6 separate regions of the Homo sapiens genome follow, and regions 2, 3, 4, 5 and 6 are each linked to region 1. The links are contacts of gene promoters, found by promoter capture Hi-C in blood cells and fetal thymus (Javierre and others, 2016). All regions are on one chromosome and are shown on one strand. The core of a region is centred on a gene start or on the middle of the fragment in contact, and the rest is flanking DNA. Distances in the headings are between cores, read along the strand shown.

The links. Contacts are between HindIII fragments. The CHiCAGO score rates a contact against its expected background, and 5 or more counts as called.
Region 2: a contact is called between a fragment that was not itself captured here and the fragment with the promoter of MTM1 in region 1, in 1 of 17 cell types (erythroblasts). The highest score is 6.1, in erythroblasts.
Region 3: a fragment that was not itself captured here is called in contact with the fragment with the promoter of MTM1 in region 1 in 15 of 17 cell types (M0 macrophages, M1 macrophages, M2 macrophages and 12 more); the score reaches 15.9 in M0 macrophages.
Region 4: a fragment that was not itself captured here is called in contact with the fragment with the promoter of MTM1 in region 1 in 4 of 17 cell types (naive B cells, M1 macrophages, M0 macrophages and 1 more); the score reaches 8.7 in naive B cells.
Region 5: a fragment that was not itself captured here is called in contact with the fragment with the promoter of MTM1 in region 1 in 1 of 17 cell types (naive B cells); the score reaches 6.1 in naive B cells.
Region 6: a fragment that was not itself captured here is called in contact with the fragment with the promoter of MTM1 in region 1 in 1 of 17 cell types (M1 macrophages); the score reaches 6.3 in M1 macrophages.

What each region holds. Positions count from the first base shown.
Region 1 is chrX:150,566,301-150,570,914 of GRCh38, reverse strand. MTM1 (myotubularin 1) reads right to left here and starts at 2,294. Exons shown (of 15, transcript NM_000252.3): 1 at 2,253-2,294. RefSeq lists a silencer at 1,813-2,492 and an enhancer at 3,777-4,614. The HindIII fragment of the contact is 5,391 bases long and covers 1-4,184 here.
Region 2 is chrX:149,863,923-149,868,689 of GRCh38, reverse strand. The region is part of intron 2 of LINC00850 (long intergenic non-protein coding RNA 850); the gene reads right to left. Among named protein-coding and RNA genes, the nearest start is that of MAGEA8, 15 kb to the left of the region's middle. The HindIII fragment of the contact is 7,908 bases long and covers 1-4,767 here.
Region 3 is chrX:149,970,825-149,975,099 of GRCh38, reverse strand. The region is part of intron 9 of EOLA2-DT (EOLA2 divergent transcript); the gene reads right to left. Among named protein-coding and RNA genes, the nearest start is that of EOLA2-DT, 34 kb to the right of the region's middle. The HindIII fragment of the contact is 3,804 bases long and covers 293-4,096 here.
Region 4 is chrX:149,986,784-149,991,233 of GRCh38, reverse strand. The region is part of intron 9 of EOLA2-DT (EOLA2 divergent transcript); the gene reads right to left. Among named protein-coding and RNA genes, the nearest start is that of EOLA2-DT, 50 kb to the right of the region's middle. The HindIII fragment of the contact is 2,699 bases long and covers 20-2,718 here.
Region 5 is chrX:149,623,046-149,627,339 of GRCh38, reverse strand. All of the region lies in intron 1 of TMEM185A (transmembrane protein 185A), which reads left to right. Among named protein-coding and RNA genes, the nearest start is that of TMEM185A, 6.6 kb to the left of the region's middle. The HindIII fragment of the contact is 317 bases long and covers 1,820-2,136 here.
Region 6 is chrX:150,008,849-150,013,511 of GRCh38, reverse strand. All of the region lies in intron 9 of EOLA2-DT (EOLA2 divergent transcript), which reads right to left. Among named protein-coding and RNA genes, the nearest start is that of EOLA2-DT, 73 kb to the right of the region's middle. The HindIII fragment of the contact is 2,165 bases long and covers 1,814-3,978 here.

The DNA of each region.
Region 1 (4,614 bases), core at 1,045-3,544:
ACAGAATATGAGAGAACTTAGAAGGTATTAAACAGATGAACTTTTACAGTCAACTCTCATTAATGCCATTTTATTAGCGAGCACTCTTGTTCCTAAGAATGAGTGCTTCTTTTCTCTTGAGCTATTTCAAAATGAACTAGTTTCTTTACAAACCACACAAGGACTGATGATCATTTCAGATAAGAGGTTCACAGTACAAACCATTGCACAGGAAGAGAAACCCTTGTGCAAGGTAGCCTGAGAGTCCAGCAGACACCGGCATGAAATCAACAACCAATATTGACCTCAGCAGAGCTTTCTGTAGCTACAGTCAGCTATCTAACTATGAAAACAGCAAAGGATTTGAAAAATACCTCTCTAGGTATTTGAAATCACTTACTGTTTGCATGTCGGGGTGGGGGGAAATGTGAGTAAAAATGAGGCTGGGATGAGCTTACCATCTAAAAGACACTCATTGGAGAAATGATGACTCCAAAAAATCTCTTTGATTCAGAGATTTACTTTTGGATTTATTTCCTTTACTGGAGCAGCAGCTGGCAATCTAAAACTAGAAATTCAAAGTAATGCCCAAGTCATTCTCAATCATGCCAGCCTGTTTCACTGTCATTGTAAGGTTTCAGAGCTCTATTTTTTCTCATAGCGCTCATCTCTGCCAGAAAATATATCATTGTTTATTTTTTTATTGTGTGCCTCCCCACATATAAACTCTATAAGGCAGGGACCTCAGCAGTGGGGCTCTTTGCTGTCTTCCCAGTGCCCACCGTTGGCATTCTTGTGTTTGATGAATGAATGAAACCATCGACAACTTAATAAATGTAGTTAGAACTTTAAGTTAAAGAGACCAATCATTTACTAACTACACTAGAATCTACAAGCCCCCCGTGAATGTTATCCACCCTCAAGCACCCGGGAGGGTACTATACACTGGTGCTGCAGGCAGCACCACTGGTTCAAATCTCCCCCATGGTGTGGAATCTCTGAAAAGTAGATTTGATTTTGTGAAGCAGCCAAAAGCCATTCAGAATCAAATCTGGTGAATACATGATCGTGCCCAATATATATGTTGGATGAAGGCAAACGTGTCTGCAAAGTAACAGGCCTGATTGTCTTATTTGGTTGGTAAACCGATTTTGAAGGAAATTCAAAATGGTTTGCAGTCTAGCAAAATTGCTGGCTCAGTCTCAAGACTCTAAGGTGCTTATTTCACAAGGAATAATACTGAGCTGTGGTAAAAAGAATCCAGACTAGACAGACACCAAGATACCCCCAAAGAGCTGGCTTGTGATATTAGCTTTGCCATTAAGTTGCCCTGAAGCCCGGGACATATTAGTTACCCTCTCTGGGCCTCAGTTCCCCCATCCAGGAAACAAATGAACAATGTAAACTTCAGGATGCCAGTCAATTCTAAAATGCTATAATTTTATTCTTGTGAAGATCTGGTGTATCTGTTTCAAAACCAGTCGCAACCCACTTCGCCTCAAACGATGCGTGCGTCTATAAAGCTCTAATATAATTTTTGCAGCAGATTCACTTCTTACTTGCTTAGGCAAATACTAAAATTAGTTTTCACTTCCTGAGCGCAGCAAAAGACAGTTAAGGGAGGCAACCCGGCCACGGGCGCTTGCTCGTGCCTGTACATACTTCCGACTGCGTATCAGGGAACTAACCGTTCCCTCTAAGATCTTCCCTCAACTGTTGCAAAAGCAGATAAACCTCTCGTGTATGACACAGAAACACTGGCCGAGAGCGGCCATCGAGGCTTCGCGGCCAGTGCCGGGCTGCGGCCGCTCCGCAGGGCCCACCGGGGATGCGACGGACGCCCGCTCCGTGCGGAGGGCCAAGGCGAGGACCAGCCGCGGAGCGTCGCCGGGGAGGCAGGGCGGACGCCCGGCCCACTCACCGCCCCGGGACGGGGAAGCAAAGTCCAGGCAGTGGCTGAGACGTCCGCCCCCAGCTCCACGGCCAGCCAACCCCTACCCCCGTCCCGACCTTCGCCCGCCGCCGGCCGGCCACCTTGGGCGGGGAGAACGGGAGGAAGCCGGAGGTACCTGCCTGCTGCTCCCTGGCCTCAGCCCTGCCCCGCGGGGACAGCGACGGCGCTTGGACGAAACCCCCACCCAACCCTGACGGTGCGGCAAGGCCCCGCGCGACCCGCTGGCCCAAGGAGTCCCAACTTCCTCCTCCCGATCCCCTCACCACGGGTCCCCGCAGTGCCCGGCTCCGAGCCAGGCCAGCCGTGAGCGCGCACCCACCTCGGGCTCCGGGCGCCACCGCCGTTGCCAGGCTGCTCGGCTGCCGGGCCCTGCTCCGCCCCCTCTGGGGTCCGCCCCCCACGGCCTGCCCGCCCCCGGCCACCGCCCGCTGCCCGCCTCCCCGTGCCGGTTGGCGGGACTGCATCACGTGACGGGGCAGGGGGCAGGAAGAGTGCGCCGGGTCGACCTGGGGAGCAGCTCCGAAGGGCGGGGCTCTTCGCCCGAGAGGCTGCTGGGAAGCCCATTTTGAAGGGTCCGACGCATGGAGGCAGCTGGGAATTGTAGTTCGCAATATGGTGCTGGGGATGGGCGGGGCCAAGATGCCAGGGGCCATCCCTGTAAGGGAAGTTGGACTGGGCGCCGGGCGGAGGCGGCTGGGAAGCGTAGTCCCGGGACCCTTGTCTGGGTCTCCCCATTTTTCTTCAGTAAAGGGGAAATCCAGAGGGAAAACTTCTCTATACAAGACTTTAGCGGATGCCACTAAATTGAGCTATTATTGGGTACACAGGGTTGGCTGCGTAAAGTTGAGATAGTATAAGGGAAAAAGAAATTTCACTGACTCTGGGGCAGGATCTGCAATTCACAAACTCAACTAACAGCTGGGGTGTCCCTCAGCTGTGCCAGCACCTTTCCAAGAACGCAATTGAGACTTAGTGAACGGAAACATTTCAGTCCAAAATTCCTTCTACTTGTTGAGGTTTGGGTCAGACAACTATTGATACAGTAAAAAGAAAGGGACAGGAAAAAGAGAAGAAAGGCAAACTTCAAGAAGAGAATTCATTGTGTAATCAAATAAAACAAACAATCTGGGCCGGGCGCGGTGGCTCACGCCTGTAATCCTAGCACTTTGGGAGGCCAACGCAGGCGGATCACCTGAGGTCAGGAGTTCGAGACCAGCCTGGACGACATGGTGAAACCTCGTCTCTACTAAAAATACAAAAATTATCCAGGCGTGGTGGCAGGTGTCTGTAATACCAGCTGCTCGGGAAGCTGAGGCAAGAGAATCGCTTGAACCCGGGAGGGAGAGGTTGCAGTGAGCTGAGATGGCACCACTGCACTCCAGCCTGTGTGACAAAGCGAGACTGCGTGTCAAAAAAATTAAAAAAAGAAAAGACAACCTGGCACATAGAAAAATGAGCATAATATTCTTTGTACTGCATAATACTTATACGCGAGCAGTTCGAGTAAATAGGATGACTTTATCATGACCTGTTTTTTTTCTCTTGTATGTGTTAGTTCTCCAGCATCTAAAAACAGCATTTTACCTGATACCAGTGTATATGTGTACGTGTGTTTCTACATAGTCACACACATATACACATATATTCATATATCATTTATATATGCATATATATATGCTTTATTGAAGAGTCTAGACTTCTTAGAAGAGTAACAAAGCCATCCAGAATCCAACCCAACCCACTCTTTAGCCACTTCTCCCAGTGTGCCTCTTTTTGCTCTTCACCCCAAGCTCTGGCCTAGTTCCAGGGAACTTGATGCACTGGGTTTTTTCTTTCCTCCAGCCCTTTCCACTTGGTCCTCTCTCCTGGATTTGCCAAACTCCTGGAAAGACAGCAGAATAGCAGCTGCTCCTGGGCCCCCGCACAATTAGAAGTCTCCCCCACCCAGCCCTTCTTGTTGTACTGATGTCATCATTTGCTTACACGTCTGCTCTGCCAACTCCCCTCCCCAGACTATGAACTCCTTTGAATCTCATTCACTTTTGTGCTGAATTTCAAAGCACGCTCAGTAAATTTGCATGCTAGAGAGGCTCCCTGGTGGGCTGCTGAATAACTCTGGATTCCTGGTATCTGTGAATCTTAGGGCAGAGGGATAGAGGAAAATGGGGATGGGTGGAGGGAGGGCAGCAGCTGCCTGGGATACCTTGCATATAATAGGCCTGGTTAAGTGTCCCAAGATGAGGCCAAAGCTTTTCGATGGAGCTGGGAGGAGCTGGGGGTTAGGAGGTGGGGAAGGTGCAGAGCAGGGATGGTCTCATCCTAAGGAGGTAATTCCTGAAGATTTTTCCAGGGTCCAGCCCCAGCCCAGCCCCACCTCTAGAAAGATGCAATTCAACCAGAAAGGGCCAGTAGAGAAGATTAGCCTTTGGCCTGTGAAATGGAGAGAGTAACCCCTGCCGTGCCTGTCTCACGGTGTAGGTGCAGAGATCGAATGAGGCAACAGATGAGGAAGCACTTTGAAAACTGTAAAGGTTGTACACTATGGGCTGGGCGCGGTGGCTCAGGCCTGTGATCCCAGCACCTTGGGAGGCCGAGGCGGGCGGATCACTTGAGGTCAGGAGTTCGAAACCAACCTGGCCAACATGGTGAAACCCCGTCTCTACTAAAAATACAAAAAAATT
Region 2 (4,767 bases), core at 2,104-4,603, 700 kb after region 1:
CATGGTATAACTTGTTCCAGGTCTGGCTGGGTAACAGTCAGGGCTACTGGACCAGGGCCTGGATTCCTACATGAGTCTGTGGGACTTGGCCCTGGGAAGGTTTCCAACACATCTTCCAGGACCACACTCCCTGCACCCAACCCCAGACCTCAAAGTTTTGCAAGGGACAGTCCTCCAGCTGGAAACCCTGAATGCCCACACTGTGCCTGTCCCTGGACTCCCAGGTTCATGTTTCTAGAGAATGCTGGAGCCACATTCCAAATTCTTCCTGCCATAGCTTGGATTTGCAAGGAGCCTTCCACATAGATATGTAAAAACCATTTTTGCTCACACAATTGTTTTCAAGGTTTGACTCAGCCTAGAGCTACCTACTTAGAAGCTGCAAGCCTCTCTTGAGTCCAAGATATTTACAATTTCCTCTTCTGAATTTCCTTCCAGAAAGCAGCCAGAGGAGGAATTATGTCCCCAGGACACAATTATGTGCTAAACCATGGCTAGGAACTTGTTGATTGCGTAGACATCAACCTTTCGTATGTCCAAGGCCTTGCCCTCTCAGCTTTGTCATCCACTGCACTTTTCTTTTTTGCACACTCAGGAATCTGCCACACCACCTGCCCTTCACCCACCTTCTGTCAGCATTCAATGGGTGACAGGAAACTGCTGCACAAAGTGCTCTGGGGGTCTGTGTCATTTGCTATGTGCAACCCTCCCTTCAATGGGTATTTGGAAGGAGCCCATCTCTCCGATGAGCCAGACTAGACCATGGAAGGGTTCAGACATGGCCCAGGTTCCACAGTGAAGAAGTAAGAGGACCAGAATAGGCTCACATAATCAGACCCTCAGACTCACAACCTCTCTCAAGTAGAATGAGTGTTCTATTGAACAGAGGAGAGGAAGTTGTCTTTGTAGCCAGAAAAGTACTGAAGAGAGTGGAAACAGAAAACAAAAAGCAGGTTGGTCATTTCAAAGTTGCTTTCCATTTAGGACTAAAGTGGAAGAGACTTCCTGATTATGCTGACTCATGTTGATTGGAATTTTCTTTTTTTTTAAATATATATATATTTTTTATTATACTTTAAGTTCTAGGGTACATGTGCATAATGTGCATGTTTGTTACATATGTATACATGCGCGATGTTGGTGTGCTGCACCCATTAACTCGTCATTTACATTAGGTATATCTTCTAATGCTATCCCTCCCCCCTCCCCCCACCCCACAACAACTGGATTAAGAAAATGTGGCACATATACACCAAGGAATACTATGCAGCCATAAAAAATGATGAGTTCATGTCCTTTGTAGAGACATGGATGAAGCTGGAAACCATCATTCTCAGCAAACTATCGCAAGGACAAAAAACCAAACACCGCGTGTTCTCACTCATAGGTGGGAATTGAACAATGAGAACACATGGACACAGGAAGGGGGACATCACACACCGGGATTGGAATTTTCCGAATTATTTTTAACTGGCCCATTTGAAAGTTCAATTTGATTTCATGACAATTAGCATGAATGACTCCATTCCGATTTGTTCTTCTGGGGCCTAGTAAAGGAGGCTGGTCTGACACAATGGCCTCCCATTAACTTTGTTTCACAATCCCCCCATTTTGGCCAGGGTGAGAGTGTGGCCAAATCAGAGGGCATGAGTGCTACACTCAGTTACCATCAGTTTTGGATTTTTGGTGTTAACATGCCATTTGTATATTACAGTGTCCTTGTTGTCATGTGTTTCTTGGAGCTTTCATCATTCCAGCTGGAGAGAGGCCATTTAGCCTTCAGCAGATGGCTGCATGGAGATTTCTAAGCCTTTTCGAGAGGATGCAGTGAACTAGGGAGACCACTCTTATGACTGTCAGGAGGATAATGCCAAGAGTTTGGAGTATGCTCTTGCAATGGGAATGACAGAGCAAAGGTTGCTGCCTAGCCAATTGAAGTAGAACATCACACCCAAATGTCTCAAGCCTCTGGTCAGAGATAAAAATTTAGAGGTGTCTCTCCCACCTAAAAGACTGGGCTTCCCCTGTTTTTCCCTCCATATCTTTTACTTTAAAAGTACCATTCAGGCATTTGCCTGTGAACTTAACATGACCCATGTCCTATTTTTCTATATTTATACTGCTCTCTCTCTCTCTCTCTCTCTCTCTCTCTCTCTGTCTCTGTCTCTCTCCCTTCCCTCTCTCTGTGCCTGATTCTTTGCTTCTTCATTCCTGCCTCATATCATTAGGGAATAGAGAACCGTCCTCCCAACTCTTTGAACCCTCTCTGACCAGGATCTGTAAGTAATAAATCTTTGAACTTATTTCCTGTCATGGTGGTAATTTGAATTTTTGCCTTCCATTTGAATATCCTGTGTCTAACCAAGGCCAGGCTTTACCTGGGATGTTGTGGGGAACACAAGATCAGGGTCCATGTGACAGAACGGTGGTCAGGCAGGCATAAACGAAACACAGATTAGACAAGAACCACAGTGACATCTGCCATTATAAACAAATTTCCCACATGAGGGGCTACCTAATCAATGGTTGGACAACTAGGCACAAGAATTATCCTGTGAAAGGCATACTGGAAACACCTACCTTAAGCTCCCCTTCATTTCCAGTTATGGAAACCTTACCAGCTACTCTGGTACTGGAACCTCAGTTTGGCTGGGAATTTTAAAAACAGCCCCTTAGGCAGGCTTCCCATGAATTAAACCAACTGAAATTGAACAGATCAAAGAATGAGCCAGATGAGGAATCTACTTGTTTTAACCAAGCAGCCTGTTTGTCCTATTTATCCACATGCAACTGAAAGTGTTAGCAACTGCAGAGATCCCTCCGTTTTGAGCTAGAAGGTTGCAGTTCTATGATCTACTATCCTATCACAGGGCTAAATTAAAGCAGAGAGTGAGGTCAAGTGGGTCTGGAAGTCTGACTCTATAAAAGGGATTACTAGTAAAGTTTGGATAAACAATTGCATCAAGGATGTTGATAAAGCTAGCTACTGGGTGGATTAAAAATTCTCTTAGGTCATGTAAAAATATGGGTTTGGCATGGCATATCCAACTTTTTATGGAATCTAATCATTGTAAAATTCTAACTACTTTTGACCCTTGAACAACGTAGGTTTGAAATGTGTCGGTCCAGTTATACATGAACTTTCTTCTGCTCATGCCATTCCTGAGACTGTGAGAATAACCACTCCTCTTCCTTCTCTTCCACAGCCTACTGAAAGTGTGGATGATGAGGACAAAAACCCTTATCATGACCCACTTCACTTAATAAATAGTAAATATATTTTACTAAAATATACAAATACGTAAAATATATAAATGCAAAACCCTTATGATGATCCACTTTCACTTAATGAATAGTAAATATGTTTTGTCTTACATAGGATTTTCTTAATAACCCTTTCTCTTCTCTAGCTTTCTTTATTGTAAGAGTATAGTACATAATGCATTAAACAGAAAAAAATATGTGTTAATTCTTACGGTTTCCAGTCAGCCGTAAGCTATTAGTAGTTATGTTTCTGGGGAGTAGTATGTTATATGTAGATTTTTGACTGCATTGGGAGTCAGTGCCTCCAGCCCTCACTTTATTCAAGAATCAGTTGTACAGGTATTATCCTGACAAGTGAATGAGGTAAGCATAAGTAAGAAAAAATTAAGAGGGGTAAGGGTGTCATTGTGATAGTCTTATTTCAATAAGACTTCAGTAAGTCAATAAGTTTTATTTCAAGTGTGACTTCATAAGAAGTCATACCTTTTTAACTTTTATGTTAGGTTCAGGGGTACTTGTGCAGGTTTGTTATACAGGTACATTGTGTGTCATGGGGGTTTGGTGCACGCCTCATCCAGGTAATAAGCATAGTACATGATAGATGGTTTTTCAATCCTCACCCTCCTCCCACCCTCCAACTTCAAATAGGCTCTTGTGTCTGTGTTCCCTTCTTTGTGTCCATGTGGACTCCATGATTACCTCCCACTTATAACTGAGAACATGTGGTATTTGGTTTTCTGTTCCTGTGTTAGTTCACTTAGAATAATGGCCTCCAGCTCCATCCATGGTGCTGCAAAGGACATGATCTCTTTTTATGGCTGTGTAGTATTCCATGGTGTATATGTACCACATTTTCTTTTTCCAATCTATTGCTGATGGACATGTAGGTGATCCTATATCTTTGCTTTTGTGAATAGTGCTGCAATGAATATATGCATGCATGTGTCTTTATGATAGAACGATTCCTTTGGGTATATACCCAATAATGGGATTGCTGGGTTTAATGGTAATTCTGCCTTAAGTTCTTTCAGAAATCACAACTGGGTTTTTCACAGTGGCAGAACTAACATACATTCTCACCAGCAGTGTATAAGAATTCCCTTTCCTCTGCAACCTCACCAGTGTCTGTTATTTTCTTCACTTTTTAGTAGTAGCCATTCTGACTGGTTTGAGATCGTATCTCATTGTGGTTTTGATTTGTATTTCTCTAATAGTTGGTGATGTGGAAAATTTTTTCATATGTTTGTTGGCCACGTGTATGTCTTCTTTTGAAAAGTGTCTGTTCATGTCCTTTGCTCACTTTTTTTTTGGGGGGTGGGGTCGGGGAACAGAGTCTCACTCTGTCGCCTTGGCTGGAGTGCAGTGGCGCAATCTCGGCTCACTGCAACCTCCACCTCCCAGGTTCAAGCAATTCTCCTGTCTCAGCCTCCCAAGTAGCTGGGATTACAAGCATACACCACCACGCCTGGCTAATTTTTTTTGTGTTTTTAGTAGAAGCAGGGT
Region 3 (4,275 bases), core at 945-3,444, 600 kb after region 1:
TTGCAAACATCTTGAAGGGCCTATGGAAGCATCAGGAAGATGAAATTTTATTCTACCATAATTAAGACTGAATGTACTTTCCTAAATTCTTGACTTTTCAAAATTGTTCACCTCTATATGGTTTACAGCAACTTATTCCTTGTAGAATATTTTCTAGGTATAAAATCACTATTATTTGGGGCTATTGTTTTTGTGATTTTTTTCAAAGAGCCAGGAAGACACCTCAACAATCATAAAGATAATTCCTCATTAAATGGCATGAGTAGAGATCTTTCATTTAGCGAAATAAGCTTTCTGTAGGGAAAGTTACCCAGAAAATTAGAACTTGTTTAGCAAATGTGTGTCACATCAGTGATTGGCAATAAAATAAACACAGGAAAGTATAAATTCAATTCATGCCATTTCTAAATTTGTGATAACTCAGTCATGGCTGGCATATTTCACCTTTCCTCTATCAATTAAAGAAAGAGCTAGGTCAAATGGTATTTCTAGTTCTAGATCCCTGAGGAATCGCCACACTGACTTCCACAATGGTTGAACTAGTTTACAGTCCCACCAACAGTGTAAAAGTGTTCCTATTTCTCCACATCCTCTCCAGCACCTGTTGTTTCCTGACTTTTTAATGATTGCCATTCTAACTGGTGTGAGATGATATCTCATAGTGGTTTTGATTTGCATTTCTCTGATGGCCAGTGATGATGAGCATTTTTTCATGTGTTTTTTGGCTGCATAAATGTCTACCATTTGACCCAGCCATCCCATTACTGGGTATATACCCAAATGACTATAAATCATGCTGCTATAAAGACACATGCACACGTATGTTTATTGAGGCATTATTCACAATAGCAAAGACTTGGAACCAACCCAAATGTCCAACAATGATAGACTGGATTAAGAAAATGTGGCACATATACACCATGGAATACTATGCAGCCATAAGAAATGATGAGTTCATGTCCTTTGTAGGGACATGGATGAAATTGGAAACCATCATTCTCAGTAAACTATCGCAAGAACAAAAAACCAAACACCGCATATTCTCACTCATAGGTGGGAATTGAACAATGAGATCACATGGACACAGGAAGGGGAATATCACACTCTGGGGACTGTGGTGGGGTTGGGGGAGGGGGGAGGGATAGCATTGGGAGATATACCTAATGCTAGATGACGAGTTAGTGGGTGCAGCGCACCAGCATGGCACATGTATACATATGTAACTAACCTGCACAATGTGCACATGTACCCTAAAACTTAAAGTATAATTAAAAAAAAAAAAAGAAAGAGCAACAACAGGTTTCTGAGTAAATTAAGAGTATAAACATGAGCTCTTAGGGGATGTTTAACCCAGTTCAGAGAACAACTCTTTCCAAGCTCTCTAACAAATTCATTTGCATATAAATAATTAGTGTGCTGATTTCAAATGACCTTTACCTACTCATTGGAGTATACTCGATCAAGACCTCTACTTGGCAATATTTTGTTAGCTTTTTATAATATCATTTCTGCTTGAAAATAAGAAAAAAATTATTATTTTAAAGAGATCTCATTAAAGAACATTAAGAAAATGTCTGTCCATAAATGCCTCATGCAGTAAGACATGAGGCAGTTTGCCCCATTATTCAGGGTATATAAACCAAGTCTCCACTTAGGATCCAAAATGCCCAGTACTTTAAGAGAGTCAAAGGGAAAGACCATGCGCTTGTATTGCTTTTACAATTTAAAAAATCTACTTAGTGTAGAAAATTTCAGAAAATAGGTAGATAAGTGTTCTAGTAACTCAAATTCTATCTGAGCCTGAAAGGTAACTCAGAGGTCATGCAGGATGACCCAACCCCTGACAACAAAACGCTCAGCATATGCCCAGAAACCTGGCTTTTGCTTAAGGATATCCAGAGCCTCAGAGCTTCCCATCTCCCAAAGCTCTTCCCATCATCCAACAGTCAAAGTATTAGTCTTTCCTTATATTGGACCAAATCTGTCTCCCCGTAATTCCTACATATTGGTCCAAGTTTCTAGGGGAAAAAAACAAAACAAACAAACAAACAACAACAACAACAAAAATGATGTTTCTATGGTTCTTTACACAGCACTTTCCACATACACATTCTCATTGGACTATCTTAATAATCCTGTGAAGCAGTTATTCCTACTACCCTTGTTTCACAGATGAAGACCTGGAGGCTAAGAGAGGCTCAGGAACTACTGACGGTTGCAGAGTGGTGAAGTGTCAGAAGCAGGGCTTGAACTCAGGTTTTCTAACTCCACCTTTTATAGCATTTTCAGTATCCCTTGTTGCCTCAAACATTAAAAAGAGAGAGAGAGAAATACGCTGCTTCTGCTTCCCCATGGGAACAGCCTTTGAAGTCGAAAGGGGGTAGAATTATTGAAGATGCACTCTCCACACATTCTCTCTGAGAGATGTCTTACTATTCACTTGGGTTTAAACTGCCCAGACATAGAGGCCTTGACCTGTATTTCCAGCCTAGACACATCCTGAGTTCCAGAACAAAATAGCTGCTCTCCCCTCTGGAAGTCCCACAGTACCTCAAATTCAGCAGGTTCCAAGCTGAATTTATCCAATTTTTTTGTACATTCTATCTCCACTGTTCATTCCTGAACTTGGTCAAAAATACCACCATCTACTCAGACAGCCATGCCAGAAACCTGGAGAATTACCTTAGACACTTTTCTCTCCCTCACCAATCCTCCCCACAACATCGTAAGAGTTTCACCATTTTGCATCTGCCTCTTCCTCTCTGTCCTCACTGCTACTGCCTTATACAGTCCACCATATCTCTTAGATGAATTCAGTGACCTTCAAAATGGTCTCTAGGCGTCTAGTAGCATCCCTTTCAAATCTACCTGCCTCCATGTAGACTGTCACCAGAGTGATGCAACAGGGCAGTCTATGTCACTCATTGCCTCCACATGTGACTCTCAAATCTAGCTAACTAAGAAAATGCCTGTTCCCCAGATGATTTCAATAATTCAGCAATGTGTAGTAACTAATGGTGTACAAAGCAAAGTCTACGTACTCAATGATCTGAATCTCACCTACCTCTCTAAGTCATCATTTCTGCCATTTTCCCCTTGGCAAGGAATACTCCAGCAATCCTAAAAACATACCATACTGGTTTGCACCTCTGTGCCCTGACTGGGGCTGATCTCTCAGCCTAGAATATCTTTACCCTTGGCCAATCTCCAATGAACCTTCAAAACTTAACTGAGGTGTCACTTCTTCAGGTAGTCTTTCACAACATTATCAGACTGGATTAGGTGCCCCTCCGTATGACTCCACGGCATCACACAAAGTTCTCTATCATGACACTTAGCATATTGTGTTGAAATTATTTGCTCATATTCTGACAAGCCTATAAGCTCTCAAAACCAAGGAACATGTTTATTCATCACTGATAAGTACCTGTCACTTAGTAGATGCTTAGTAAATGTTCACCTGAAATGGATCTAATTTCAAGTGTAGGCTCCATACTTGGCTAACTGTAGAGTTGAATTTTAGGAAACTCAATTCAGCTGCTTAGACCTCAGTTCGCCAAACTGTAAAATAGGCACAATAAATCCCCACGTTTGGCCAGGTGTGGTGGCTCATGCCTATGATCCCAGCACTTTGAGAGGCTGAGGCAGGATGACCACTTGAGGCCAGGAGTTCAAGACATGCCCGGGAAACCCTGTCTCTACAAAAAAAAAAACAGCCAGGCATTAGTGATGGTGCATGCCTTTAGTCCTAGCTACTTGGGAGGCTGAAGCATTAGGATCACTTGAGCCCAGAAGTTCAAGGCTGCAGTGAGCTATGATCGCACCACTGCACTCCTGCCTGGGCAAGAGTGAGAGACACCCTGTCTCTCTACAAAGCAAAATAAAACAAAAACCTCCATGTTCATTCATACACTAAACATGTGATTACTAAGGGACAGGCACTAGCTTGTGTGAAGATTTAATAAATTGAATAATGTATGTGAGAGTTTTTGTAAACTCTCACATAGTATTATAAAGATATTTCTGCAATTTTAGCTTCTACTTAGTGTCTCAGCCAGAAATAATTTCATTCCCTAAAGCCAAAGTTAACTAAGCTTTTAGTCTCCATTAGGCTCACCAAGGTATCAGAGGAAGAAAGCCACATGTGAACAAATATGAACCTAAAAGAGTCAATCCTTCAAGATGGATCCCAAGTGGCTAACTGGGCCTAAATTTAAAATACAGCCAGGCAGCCATTTGCTGACTAAAGGTCACTCTGAGTTTCCCAAAAACTCC
Region 4 (4,450 bases), core at 120-2,619, 580 kb after region 1:
CACCTAACTATAGGAAGCTTGGAAATTAGTCTTTCATGCTTTCAGAAGGAGAGAATCAGATGGTAGTAAATACTAGTTATGTCTATGCAAACTGCATTTATCAAAACATCCAACTAAATGTTCAGCTACATATGTAATGGAAAATAGTATTCTTTTAGCAAGGGAAAAGAAAACGGCTAGGATAGATAACTAGCAGTGTCCATCATATACCCTAATCTTAAGATGAAGAATGTGAGACTTAGAGAGGTTTAGTAATGGATTAAAGGTCATATAGTAAGAAAGTAGTACACTCAAATTTGAACCCTGGTCTGACTCCAAAGTCTATAATCCTTTTGCTCCAGCAAACTGCCTCCCAAAGACAGGAAGAAATTGTTTTGTGATCATCCACCACTCAGAATTATCCACAATGGTCCACAAAGTCTATAAAAGAGAACTTAGAGCTAGAGCTGGCTACTGACCACTGCTGCATCATATAAAACCAGAGATGTCAGAACAGGAAGGAGTTCTTACATGACAGACCAGACCACCTATCGCCACCTTAGTACTTTTCAGATATGGAAACTGAGGCCCATGATGTGGAGTATGTTGTTCAAGAATACATGGATGATAATGAGACAGTGCTACCATAACATTTGTATCAAGCAGGGTCTTGGCAGGAAACACAGCACATTCAAAAGGTGTAACTGAAGGTAGGGGCAGGGTTAAGGGAACCTATAAGGTAAGGTGCATTGGTCCTGGATCAGTAGCAGGAAGAAACCACTACCATCTCTCGACCTGAAGTGAGAAGGAGAGTAATGGTTACCAGAACCTGGTAAAAGCTGAGGCTGTCAGAGAGGGACAACCCAACACAAGCTATGGCATGAAATAGTGGAACACAGCCACTGCCAAATGTGACCTGGCAGAGAAGAAGCTGGAGAAGTAAATACTGAGATCTGGCTTTCCTCTCAACCCTCTGATCCTTTCTCCCTCCCCCACTGATACGTTGCATTGTCAAACCTAACTGGAAGCCAGAGGACAAGGGAGCCTGGTTGATGCAGCCCATAGAAGTCAGTCTCCAGGGGCCCAGAGCAGGGTAAGGAAGGGTAGAGAGTGCAGCTGGAGTGGGAAACTCAAGAGTATCCATTATGGTGACTTTCCTTTCTTTTCACTGATTCATTCATTTATTTATTTACCATGCATAGTGTCAGAAAGTGCTAAACACATTTTAATTTCCATCAACATTCAAGTTTTGTCTTTAAAATTTGGTGGTGAAAGCATGTCATCTATCCAAGTATAAGGCTAGTTTTATTTCAAAGAACAGGGGTAGATTTTAAGGCCATGCTCAGTTTAGCATGAGGTAAAGAAAACTACATTTAAAAAATTCTACCACAGCTTGACTTCTGGTTAAACATGGCAGACTGATAACACATGATTATCTCTCTCCCTCCCGAAGTCTCATTAATGGAATTAAAACAATGCAAATAAAAAGTGTGTGTGTGTGTGTGTGTGTGTGTGTGAGAGAGAGAGAGAGAGAGAGAAGAGAAAGACAGAGAGAAAGAGGTGTTAAGTCCACGCAGACTAAGAAAACAGGGAAGGAGACATTAGTGGACAAGAATTATCCATAAATGTTTCGAAGACAGGAAATGATGGGAAGAACGAATATTTATTTCAGAGAGTAAAGGAAAAGCAAGTTAGAACCTAAGTGCTTGCAGAAAGACATGCCAATGAAAAGTGAAACAATTAGTCCCCATTGAATCCTGGGAAGGCTTAAGGGTTTAGAAATACCAAGTACCACAGAAATTGGGATAAGACACAGGAAAACAGGAATTAAAACTCTGTATAGGGAGCAGCAGGCTCCCATATATACTTTTCAGCATGCAGCTACCTAGATAACTATTTTATCCTCTCCCTTTGCCCCCAGGAAACAAGAGAGTTCCACTCTTCAATATGAATAGACAGCCAAGGATCACAAAACATTTGAGGAACTCTTCCAATATGAGAGAAGTCAAAACAAACAAACAGAGAAAACAGAGATGATACAATAACAGAAGAAAACTTAAAACTATAATTAATATCCTCAGAGATAAGAGAAAATTTATATCCATAAGCATAAGCAGGATACTACAAAAAGGAAGACACAGAAAACAAAGGAATTTAAGGACACTGAAAATATGATAATCAAACTGCAAAAAAGTAAAAGGATTAAAATAAGAAAATCTCCCAAAAAGAAGAACATAAAGACCAAGAGAGGAAAAGACAAGAAAAGCAGAGGAACAATATGGGAGGTCTAATATCCAAATAATTGAAATTTCAGAAAGAAAAAACGAAGGGGAGAAAATTATCAAAGTCATAATGTAAGAAAAATAAGGACATAAATTTCCACATTTAAAGCTCCTAAGGAAGGATCAGTAAAATGAATGCATAAAGATCTATACCAAGTCACACTGTCAAAACATGTCTGAATTATAAGGGCTAAAAAAAAAAAGAACCTAAAAGGTTTCAGAGCAAAGGAAAAAAACAATGCTTATACGGAAGACTCTTATACCAGAACTAGATTGGCATCAGCCTTTTAAATAACAACACTGAAAACGAGGAGACAATGGAGCAATGCCTTCAAAATTCTGCGAAAAACCAATTCATAATTTTATACGCAACACAGCTATTTATTTCCTTTGGCAAAAATATAATTTTACCTGTGGAAGGATTATTTTTATTTTCCAGGCTTATTGACATCAAGCTTGGCCATAAGACTTGATTTTCCAATGACATGTGAACAGAAGTGATGTGTACCACTTCAGAGCAGCAGCTTTGACAGCCAACACTGATTCAATCAGTGCTATTTTTCCTCTGCCATGAGAACTGCTTCTCCTAGAGAGGGGCTGCTCCCTTAACCTAGGTGCCAGAGTGAAAAAGACCTGGCTAGAACTACTGCTAACCCATGAAAGACATAGGATACCAGTAAGAAAGAAATCTTGTATAAGCCATTGGGATTTTGGAATCATTTGCACCACGGCATAGCCTACTAAAAAGCTGACTAATATAATTTGTCATAAACCTTTATTTAGGAAGCTATTAAAGCACGTGCTCCAGCAAAACAAGTAAGCAAATAATTTTTAAAAAGGAGACAAAAGACCCAAAAACTAGGGTCCTAATACAGGAAACTGGCAAAGGGAGGATGATTCCTGTACAGAAGGCCCAGAGAGCCAAGGCTGAAGCGGGAGGCTGGAAGACTCCAAGAAAAAATAAAATTGGTAGGTTATCTGATATATTTCAGTGTTCAAAAAATAATACTGAGGACTACTTGATAAATCTGATGAATGTTGTGCAGAAAATAAGAAATGAGTAAAAAGAAAACTAAGCAAATAAGAAATTAGGCAATTATTGACTCTGGGGAAAATAAAATATTATTCAAAAAAGGAAGTGAAAGCATAATGCATTGCTTGGCTTGGCACTGGACATAAATGCAAAGCTATAATAACAAACACTGAATACCAATTTTGAAAAAATACATGATTTACTTATACTGGAGTAATGGAGGAAAGAAAATGGAGAGGCTGTATGGTCATCATTAGGGCTGTTCACAAATATTCCAGAGCATCTTTTCCCAGGCACATGGTAGGGTTGTACTTCCAGGCCTCTTTTCAGATTAAGTATAGTCATGTAGCTTGCTTTGACCAATAAAATGTGAGTAAAATTAATTTATATCATACCTGGGAAGAAGTTTTGAGAGGCAGCAGGCAATTAACTCTTTATTTGCCCATTTCATAGATCATGTGATCAGGTGTTGAGTTGGAGCCTCCATCATCCCATGTCCATCCTTCAGTGACCAACATGAGCCAGAGGCCCCCTGCCCACTTAAGTTGAATGTGTAGCATGAGCAAGAAATAAACTTCTGTTCTGTAAAGCCCCTGGTAACTAGGAATGTCTTGTTATGCAGCACAGACCAGCCATACTCGACTGATAGGGACTATGAGACAGCCAGCCTCTCATCTATCATCACAAGAAGTAAACACACAATATCTAAAATAATGAATCAAGTAATGGCAGCATAAGCATATTACATAAAATATGAAGGTAAGTACCAAAAGCAAGAGGAGCAGGATTGGGAGGAAGCAGTACCGGCCTGATTGGTTTTGTTGATGTTATTATAAGCCTGATTACAAAAATTATTCATATTATTGCATTGATAAAAATAATTTTAAACCCATATATATATGCATATATATATGCACATTTTACTGGAGATCCAGTATAAGGAATAAGATATTGGTAGCAGCAAGGTTTTAGTATGAATTTCCTCACCAATGCTCAGGATTCCTAATGGAGAAGACAGGGTCTAGCCTTCATTGTTTTTAATAGAGGAACTCAACTATCTCTTGACCCTTAAGACAGGTTCCTTTCGATTAAACATTAACTCTAGATATTTTGTAGAACTTTATCCTCCAGGATCAACATTCCCTAAACAGCAATG
Region 5 (4,294 bases), core at 729-3,228, 940 kb after region 1:
TCAAGGTTTAATGGATTTAGGGCTGTGCAGGATGTACCTTGTTAACAATATGTTTGCAGGCAGTATGCTTGGTAAAAGTCATCGCCATTCTCCATTCTCGATTAACCAGGGACACAGTGCACTGCGGAAGGCCGCAGGGACATCTGCCCAAGAAAGCCTGGGTATTGTCCAAGGTTTCCCCCCACTGAGACAGCCTGAGATATGGCCTTGTGGGAAAGGAAAGACCTTACCACCCCCCAGCCCGACACCCGTAAAGTGTCTGTGCTGAGGAGGAGTAGTGAAAGAGCGGGGCCTCTTTGCAGTTGAGATAAGAGGAAGGCTTCTGTCTCCTGCTCATCCCTGGGAATGGAATGTCTCTGTGTAAAGCTGACCATTCCCATTCGTTCTATTCTGAGATAGGAGAAAACCACCCTGTGGCTGGAGGCGAAGTATGCTGGCAGCAATACTGCTCTGTTACTCTTTGCTACACTGAGTTGTTTGGGTAAAGAGAAACATAAATCTAGCCTGCGTGCACATCCAGGCACAGTACCTTTCCTTGAACTTATTCATGATACAGATTCCTTTGCTCACGTTTCCCTGCTGACCTTCTCCCCACCTGTTGCCCTGCTACACTCCCCTCGCTAAGATAGTAAAAATAATGATCAGTAAATACTGAGGTAACTCAGAGGCTAGCGCTGGTGCGGGTCCTCCGTATGCTGAGTGCCGGTCCCCTGGGCCCACTGTTCTTTCTCTATACTTTGTTTCTGTGTCTTATTTCTTTTCTCAGTCTCGTCCCACCTGACGAGAAATACCCACAGGTGTGGAGGGGCTGGCCCCTTTCAGTATCTCAGAAGGGACAAAGTACACAAAGGCATGGGGTCATGATAGTGCCTGGTATGTTCAGGTAGTGAAGAGGTCCATGTGGTATGAGCACTGCAGATGATATGTGTCGTATGAATTAAAAATACATAGTTACTGCAAATAGTTTTTACAGGTTATTGTTTTTAAGAAAGCAGTATCTAATGCACGAGTGTACTGTCAGTACTGTCAATGAACTACTTACCACTCAAGTGACTGCTTATCTGTTGTTCTGTCCTCTCAAGCCACCTACAGTCAGAAAATGGTCTTGATTTTACTGATGTTGCTGTTAATAATAGCTGTGACTTCTTGAGTACCCACCACATGCCAGGCCCAATGTAGGGGCTTTGCATCCATTATCCATGATCTTTACAACAACCCTGCAAAATTAGGTATCAGCCTTATTTTAAAGTCTTGACAGCTTGTGACTTCCCTGAAGTTGCATAGGCAGGAAGAATCTAAGTCAACATTCGAATCCACGTCAGTCTCATGAAGCCTGTGCTCTTTCCTGCGTGCCATGCCATAGTTCTAGTTAAGTGACAACTCCTTTCCTCCATGACATTGTAGATCCAGTATGCTAAGGAACCCTCTATTTACAAATTGTAAGTGATTAAACAAAACAAACCTGTTAGTGGCGCTTATACATCCAAATGAGTGTTGTTATTCAAAGAGGTTACTTGGGGAAAGAGAATGTATACACCTATTCCATTGTTCATACTCCTTGTTACTCATCTGGAATTCCCTTTAAAGTCAGTTTACATATCACATAAGAAGATCCATCTCATTGCTTTATGATCATCTATCATTTTCAACCAAAATAGTTCCACCTAGTTTGATCACACATCTTATTCACTAACCTTGGCTCTGACTGACTGTTTGCCATTTCCAAAATTTGAATCCACCCTCAGTGAAAATTTAGCACCATTTGGGATAGTCAGAAGATCAGACTGCAGGTTCTCAAGGTGCTTCCAAGAAGAAAGCTTCAAAGATGATTTGAGTAATGAAGTACCATTGGAATTACTGCATTGCCTCCCAAGGGGACTGGTTAAAGGAGAGAAATCTCATTTGAATGTATAATTTCCAGTTTTAAAAGTATCATTCCTATTACTTGATAATTACACACACATTGTTCTTAGCTGTGTTCTTTGAGGGCCAGGATTTGGAGGTGCTGAATTACGTGCTGAATGAGTGGATGTTGGGTACAAATAGACATCTACCACTGGGAAGTCTTTGTTGTACAGGAGAGACCGTGGATTGAAGGAGTTTTAGATAGTTTCCTAGGACTCCAGAAGTTAAGCTTTTTAATATGGAGCTTGAGTTTTCTAATCATTTTGCCTGATATGTCATGCCTGTACAAGATGACTGGAATTTAAGACAAAAGCCTCGAACTCTGGAGATAGATGCTTTATAAGTGGAGACTCATACTTTGTCAGCTCCAACCTAATAGTGACAACAATGATTGCTAAATGAGATTATTACCTACAATGTGGCAGAACTTTTGTCTTTCATAATACTGCTAAAGCTAGAATGGGTAAAATGTATCATTTACACAGTGCTTTCACATACCCTTGTCTTAATGAATCAGTATATGAGGAATCAGATGAGGAGACAGACCTGGGGGAAAATAACTCACCCAAGACCACACCGCTGATGAATGGCAGTTGAGGAACTTAAATGCAGATCTTCCTACTGGCCTGGGCTCTGCTTTTATTTGGCTTTTGTGCTTTTTTGTATCTACTGGTTAAATGCTCTTAAACATTTTTTATCTTAATAAAACCAGCTAAAGTCTCCACTAAAAGACTTTAAATTTGGTTAATAAGGTGTAAGAGGGGCAGTTCCCTTGATAGTTTGTGAGTATGTCAGGTTGTCATTTGGAGCCATTCTGTCAAGCTTTAGACTGGGATGTGCCATCCAAAGTTTGTGTGTGTGTATGTGCTTGTGCGTGTGTACGTGCATGCAGGCATGTGTTAATGCGCGTGTATGTGCTCCAGTGAAGCCAGCAGCTTCCACTGGAAAAAAACTGATAGGTCTAAAAAGAGTCCAGCTGCATTCTTATGATATGCAGAAAACAGATACTAGAACTTTTACATTCAGAGTCATCATTCCTTTGCTAAGTATATTCTCTCTCTCCCTCCCTTCTTCCTTTTCTCCCTCCCTATTCTCCCAACCCTGCAAAGTGGAGAGAGGGAATTTGAGCCTGAGCAGAAAGCTCCATGTAAATTTCAGAGAGGATACTAGCTTTGGCCCAGGTAGCACTACTTAGTGATTCATCGTATACTAACACTACAGATTCAAATGAGAGTGGAATAAATCCATTCTAAAGGTGTAACTGGAAAAGTGAATTTTAAGAAGTAGTGATTAATGTTAAACCAGAACCTCCCATTTCTCCCAGGTTTGTGGAGAATTAAGCAGTCTATTTTTATACTTGGAATCTGGTCTGAATGTTTCTTGAAAAGTAACTCAAAGTAGTTTAGGCTATGACCATAAGTTATTTTTGTAAATACATTTTCTTATCACTGTATTATTGCATATTATTGTGTATTCTTTTGCAAATCAGGCTTGATATTTCCTTTTGGCTATGCAGTCACCTTTTAGACTTTGCTTGCAAATATATTGATATAGTTAAGATACTATTCTTTCTTTCCCCAACTAGGAGTGTGTATGAATTACATCTTTTGAACTTACTGATTGTATTACTTTGTTTTACTTGATCAACTTTGTAGTTTAATTTTTTTAAAAAGCTAGCTGTTGGGATTACTGATCAGTTTCATTTTTATATCTATATTTCTACTTTTAGTTTTATTATTTTCATGTTTTGGCTTTTTCCCCAAATTTCTTAGAAACTCAGTTTACTAGTTTTCTTTTGCCTCTTTTTTTTTTTCTTTGTTTTCTACTTTTACTTAAACATTTTAAATGAACACATTTTCTCTTGAGTTTTGTTTTGGCAGCTGCCCAGGTATTTTTATGTTTCAATTGTATTTTAGTAACTCTACTAAACTGCTTAACAAATCAGTATTGAAAATGATCCATTTTTTGTCAGTGTTTTTATGAATTGTATAAAATGTCTACCTCTGGTCTCTACTGATTACAATCTACCTTACACACTCATATGTATCTTCTGTCACTCTTGTTGAGAAAATCTGCAGTGGCCCCATATTACCTATTAATAAATTCCAAGGACTTTACCTTGATATTCACATTCCCCTACCATGTTACCACAGCCAACTTCTGGCTTATTCCCCCCAGTACCCTTTCTCCTGTCTCTGCAGCACCCTACCCACCACGATTTATAGAAAGTATTCTGTGTGTTCCAGTCTGCTGGAATTGGAGAGGGGAGGATAAAGAGGGGATGAGCAATGGGTACAATAATACAGTTAGATAGAAATAATAAATCTAGTGTTTGGTAGCACAAGAGGGCAAATATAGTTAATAATGTATATTTGCAAATAACTAAAAG
Region 6 (4,663 bases), core at 1,647-4,146, 560 kb after region 1:
TTCAGGCTAATTTTCCAGTGCTGGAAATAAACTAAAAATAATAAAACTAAAAACCTAAAAACAAACCCCTTTGTAACCATTAAATTTCTATCAGACAGTGAATAAAGGACAGTTACCTAACATCTGAAATGCCTTTCCTTTTGGATACTGAGGAACTTAGAAATGTTCAATTCTGTGATTGGGCCATGATCGCATCCTGATTCTGAATCCCTAAAACGTGAAGGCAAGGCAGCTGGAGAGCCAGGATTGGAGTCCACCAGAAGAAGGCAGAGACAGAAACTGTCTCTTGGTTACCAAGGTTTCTCTTAGAAAACCCCATTCACACAAATCTGAATTCAGAGGCAACACCCAGGGTGAGCAACACTGATAAGGAAACTAGAGAGTTCTGATCAGGAAAATAAAATAAAAGACCATTCCCTCTTGTGTCTTGGTGTTTTGGGTCAAAGTAGGAGTTGCAAGTCCATAGCTCTAACTAATTTACAGTATAAATGTATTAAACAAAAATGCACAATAGCTGGAGATTCTGCCTGAGGTCTTCATAATGTCATTACACAGGAAAAACTGTGGGCTTCATACTGTGGGAATCTCTTTTTGGCTTGTATTATAAGCAGGAAGTGCTTCTTCCCACCCAAGATCCCTCCCATGGTTTAGCTTGTAAGAAAATGCTGTTCCAGCATGAGAAAACTCAGCTCCACCCTCTGGTATGGAGTCTGGCATGCAGTGTTATGTTCACAGTGTGGCTATTATTGTGGCTTGCCACTAGAGAATCGCAGGCTCATAGAAAAGCTAGAAATACTGATTTAAGGGAGGCAGTATATATATTGATTAAAAGCATATTTTTTAGGGTCAGATAAACCTGGGTTCAAATTCTAGTTCTTCCATCTACCAGCTGTGTGACCGTAGACAATGTCCTTAGCCTTCCTGTGCCTCATCTGTCACTTTGGAGATAATTACTGCACCTCCCTCATGGGTTTGTCATGAGGATTAAAGGAAATTATGCATATAGTAAATGCCTAAATAAGAGTGAGCTAGAATGAAAGCTAGTGAGGTCAGAAGTCACTGACCTCAAGTTCCAAATAAACAAGAACTTTATAGTTGATAAGGCCAGACCAGAAAATATGGACTGAAGCGGTAGGAGAAAACTTATGAAAAGGATAAAATAAACTATTAGAAAGTATTGGGACAAACTCTGAAGCCTGGTTTGAAACCCACTTTGAGAGTCGCCCAAGGCCAGAGTGGACACATGGTGCTCAGGAAGGAAAACCAATCAAGTTAATTTTCATCTCCATGGAGCATTTGCAAGCCACCAGAAGTCTTCAAGTGTCAGAATGCATAACTGGGTAGTGCCCTCAATATAGAGAAAAAGTAAAAGAAACCTGAAGACAGCAAATGAACACTGAATTTACACATTCAAAATCAAATTCAGTGCCCTATATACAAAACTTATCAAAACCTCAGGGTTTTCCTAAAGTTACATTTCAACCATGTAGCCTTTAAGGGAGTCAGCAAGACTGCATGTGCTGACATGGAAAGCATGGAAAGATACACATGTGACATGGTTTCAATGTGTGTCCTCTCCAAATCTCATGTTGAAATGTGATTCCTAATGTTGGAGGTGGGACCTGGTGAGAGGTGACTGGTCAGCCCCTTTAGCTGCTTAGCATCATCACCTTGGTGATAAGTGAGTTGTCACTTTGAGTGCACATGAGATCTGTTTTTTTAAGAGACTGGGACCTTCTCCGTCTCTCTCTTGTTCTCTCTCTCACCATATGATGTGCCTGCTCCACCTTCGTTTTCCACATGATTGTAAGCTTTCTGAGGGCTTCACCAGAAGCAGATGCCAGCAGCAAACTTCCTGTACAACCTGTAGAGCCATGAGCCAATTAAACCTCTTTTCTTTGTAAATTACCCAGCCTCAGGTATTTCTTTATAGCAAAGCAAATGGCCTGATACAACATGGAAGTGGATGTACAAAACTTGTGTTTACCATGCTCCAGTCTGAGTTTTCTAAGAAAGCATATATAAGTAAATGTGTGTATGTTACCTATATGTACATATATGTATGAATGTATACATTACATACACACTTATATACATATAGAAAATTTTTATAGGGATATGTAAGAAATTGTTATTGATGTTATACAAAGGAGTGAAACTAGGAGCTTGATGTGGAAGAGGATCTTCTTTTCATTTTATATGCTTTTGTACTGTGCATTTTTACCATAAGTATGTATTATTTTTATAATTTAAAAAGGGACAACAACCCCAGAAAGAAATAACTCTAAAAACTCAGTACATTGTACAGTACTTTGCATGAAGTAGGACTCAGTAAATACTTGACTGAATGGATGAAAGTCACTCAATCACCCCATCAGTTGGTATATGGGATGGGGAAAAGCATATACAAAGAAGAGAAAAGAAATAAAAAAGGAGAATAGCAAGCACCAACTTGGAGCAGTTTTCATTCCCTCAAAAGATAAAAAAAAATGGAAGGAAAGTCACCAAAGGAAAAAGCTGACAAGTATCTTCCCCACCCCAGTGGTGCCTGCTGTCAAAAATTGCAATGTGCTTTGCAAATACTGTCTGCAGATCTGTGAGAGGGTGTAAACAGAAGGCTCTTTAAAGAGTTAATCAAAGCTGTGCTGTGCTCCAAACAGGGAAGGAGCAGAGAAGAGGTTAATGTCCTCCTCGTGGCCATGAAAGATGCTTTGCCATGAGGATGCTTCTCAGTGAGGAGCCCAGGGACTACATGGAAAGTGCAGTAAAACGCTCCACATTGGTACTAATAGGTGCCATTTGCAGAACACTGCCTTCCCAAATCTGAAAGTTTGTAATGAAATGCTTTTCCACAAAGAGCGGTAGAAATTATGGGTACAAAACCCCACTAGGTTATCCACCTGTCTCTTAGATTGGATTTAATTCCATATAAATCCTGATATGGATTTAACACTACATAAATCCTAATGCTTTCAATGATGTATAAGGGGGATTTACACTAATAAATCCTAAATAGAAAATACAGGCACAAAGCAACAATACTAAATGCAAAGGAAAGAGAGTCACCTTCACTGATTCATCTTGATATATACCAAGGTAATTATGAACTGCCAGCATGTTTTTAAATTTAGGGTTTTTTTTTTTAAAGAAATTACAACTTCATTGAAAGTTTAATGGATGAAGCTATCAAAGTCAAGTTAAAACAAACAAGCACAGATGCCATTTTCATTGATCAATGCAATTTAGTATCCTCATGGGACAGAACCAAATTCCTGAACAAATATAGGAGAGAAATAAGGAAGCCTGGCCCCACAGCAAGCACAGTGTACCTTTATTTTAACAAGGGCAAACTTGGCCTTTGGTCAAGGTGGTGAGACTGAGTGCAGTAGCCTTGTTGCCACTAGAGAAGTCCACCAGAAAGCAGATTTACTCATCAATGAAAACTATATAGATCATTTTCAATTTTGTAATTTAGCAGTTAGGGGCCCTTATAAATATGTTGTCTATGTTATTTCACTTTACTTTTCAAACTTTTCTATTTTCCCTCCATTCTATCCAGTTGTGAAAACTGGGACACTTCCAAACTTTGGGACAATTACTCACCAAATGGCTCATAGAAAAAGCACAACCGGAATCCAGACTTCTCTTCTAGCAAACAACCTTTATCTCTTTCCTTCTCCTTTCTTCTCTACCTTACTTATTGTCAGGAGATGTGAGTGTGAGGCCTGGCTGTGCCACCAACTTGCTGTGTGGCCTATAAAGGTGGCTTCTCTTCTCTCAGGTTCACTCTCCCTATGTATACAATGAAGAAGTGGACTAAATGAATGCTAACTTTCAATGGCATTGACTCCATTAATATAAAAAGTCCTTCTTGATCCCAGTATTAACCTGACAGAGCTGGAGGCCTTTTCTAGTCTGATCCCCATTCCCTGATGGAGGATACCCAGCTTTTGGTGCTCTCTTCAGGAGAGTAAAGCTTCTCTGACAGGAAGATGAGAGACTTCCACTCAGGCTCTGGATTAGCATCTCAGAAATCTGAGTCAATAGAAATCATGCCAACCAACCTCTATGGCACAATATATGCTCACTTAGTAGACATAGTAATAATTAATTATTATTACTCAAATATTACTCAATATTTTATGACTATTGGGGTAAAAGAACTCATAATGACAGCTCACTCAAGGCTCTCCATAATCCTGCAACTGTCTCTGCTCAAAGCCGCATTGCTATCTTCATGATATCTGTTTCAGTCATGGTTATCCAGAGAGAACAAATAGGAGATACACACACACACTCACACACATGCACACGCTCATACATGTGCATGCACACACATAAACACACACAAACACATTGTCTTAGTTCATTTTGTGCTGTTCTGACAGAATACCACAGACTGGGTAATTTATAAACAACAGAAATATGTTTTCCACAGTTCTGGAAGCTGGAAGTCCATGATCATGGTACCAGCTGATTTGGCATCGAGTCAAAGCTGTCTCCACTTCCAAGACGGCTTCTTGAATGCTACATCCTCCAGAGGGAGAAACACTATTCCTCACATGGCAGAAGAGCAAAAGAGCTGAGAGGGAGAGAGCAAAAGGGGGCCAAACTTGCCCTTTTATAACATACTCACTCCTACTCAACAGCATTAATCCACTCA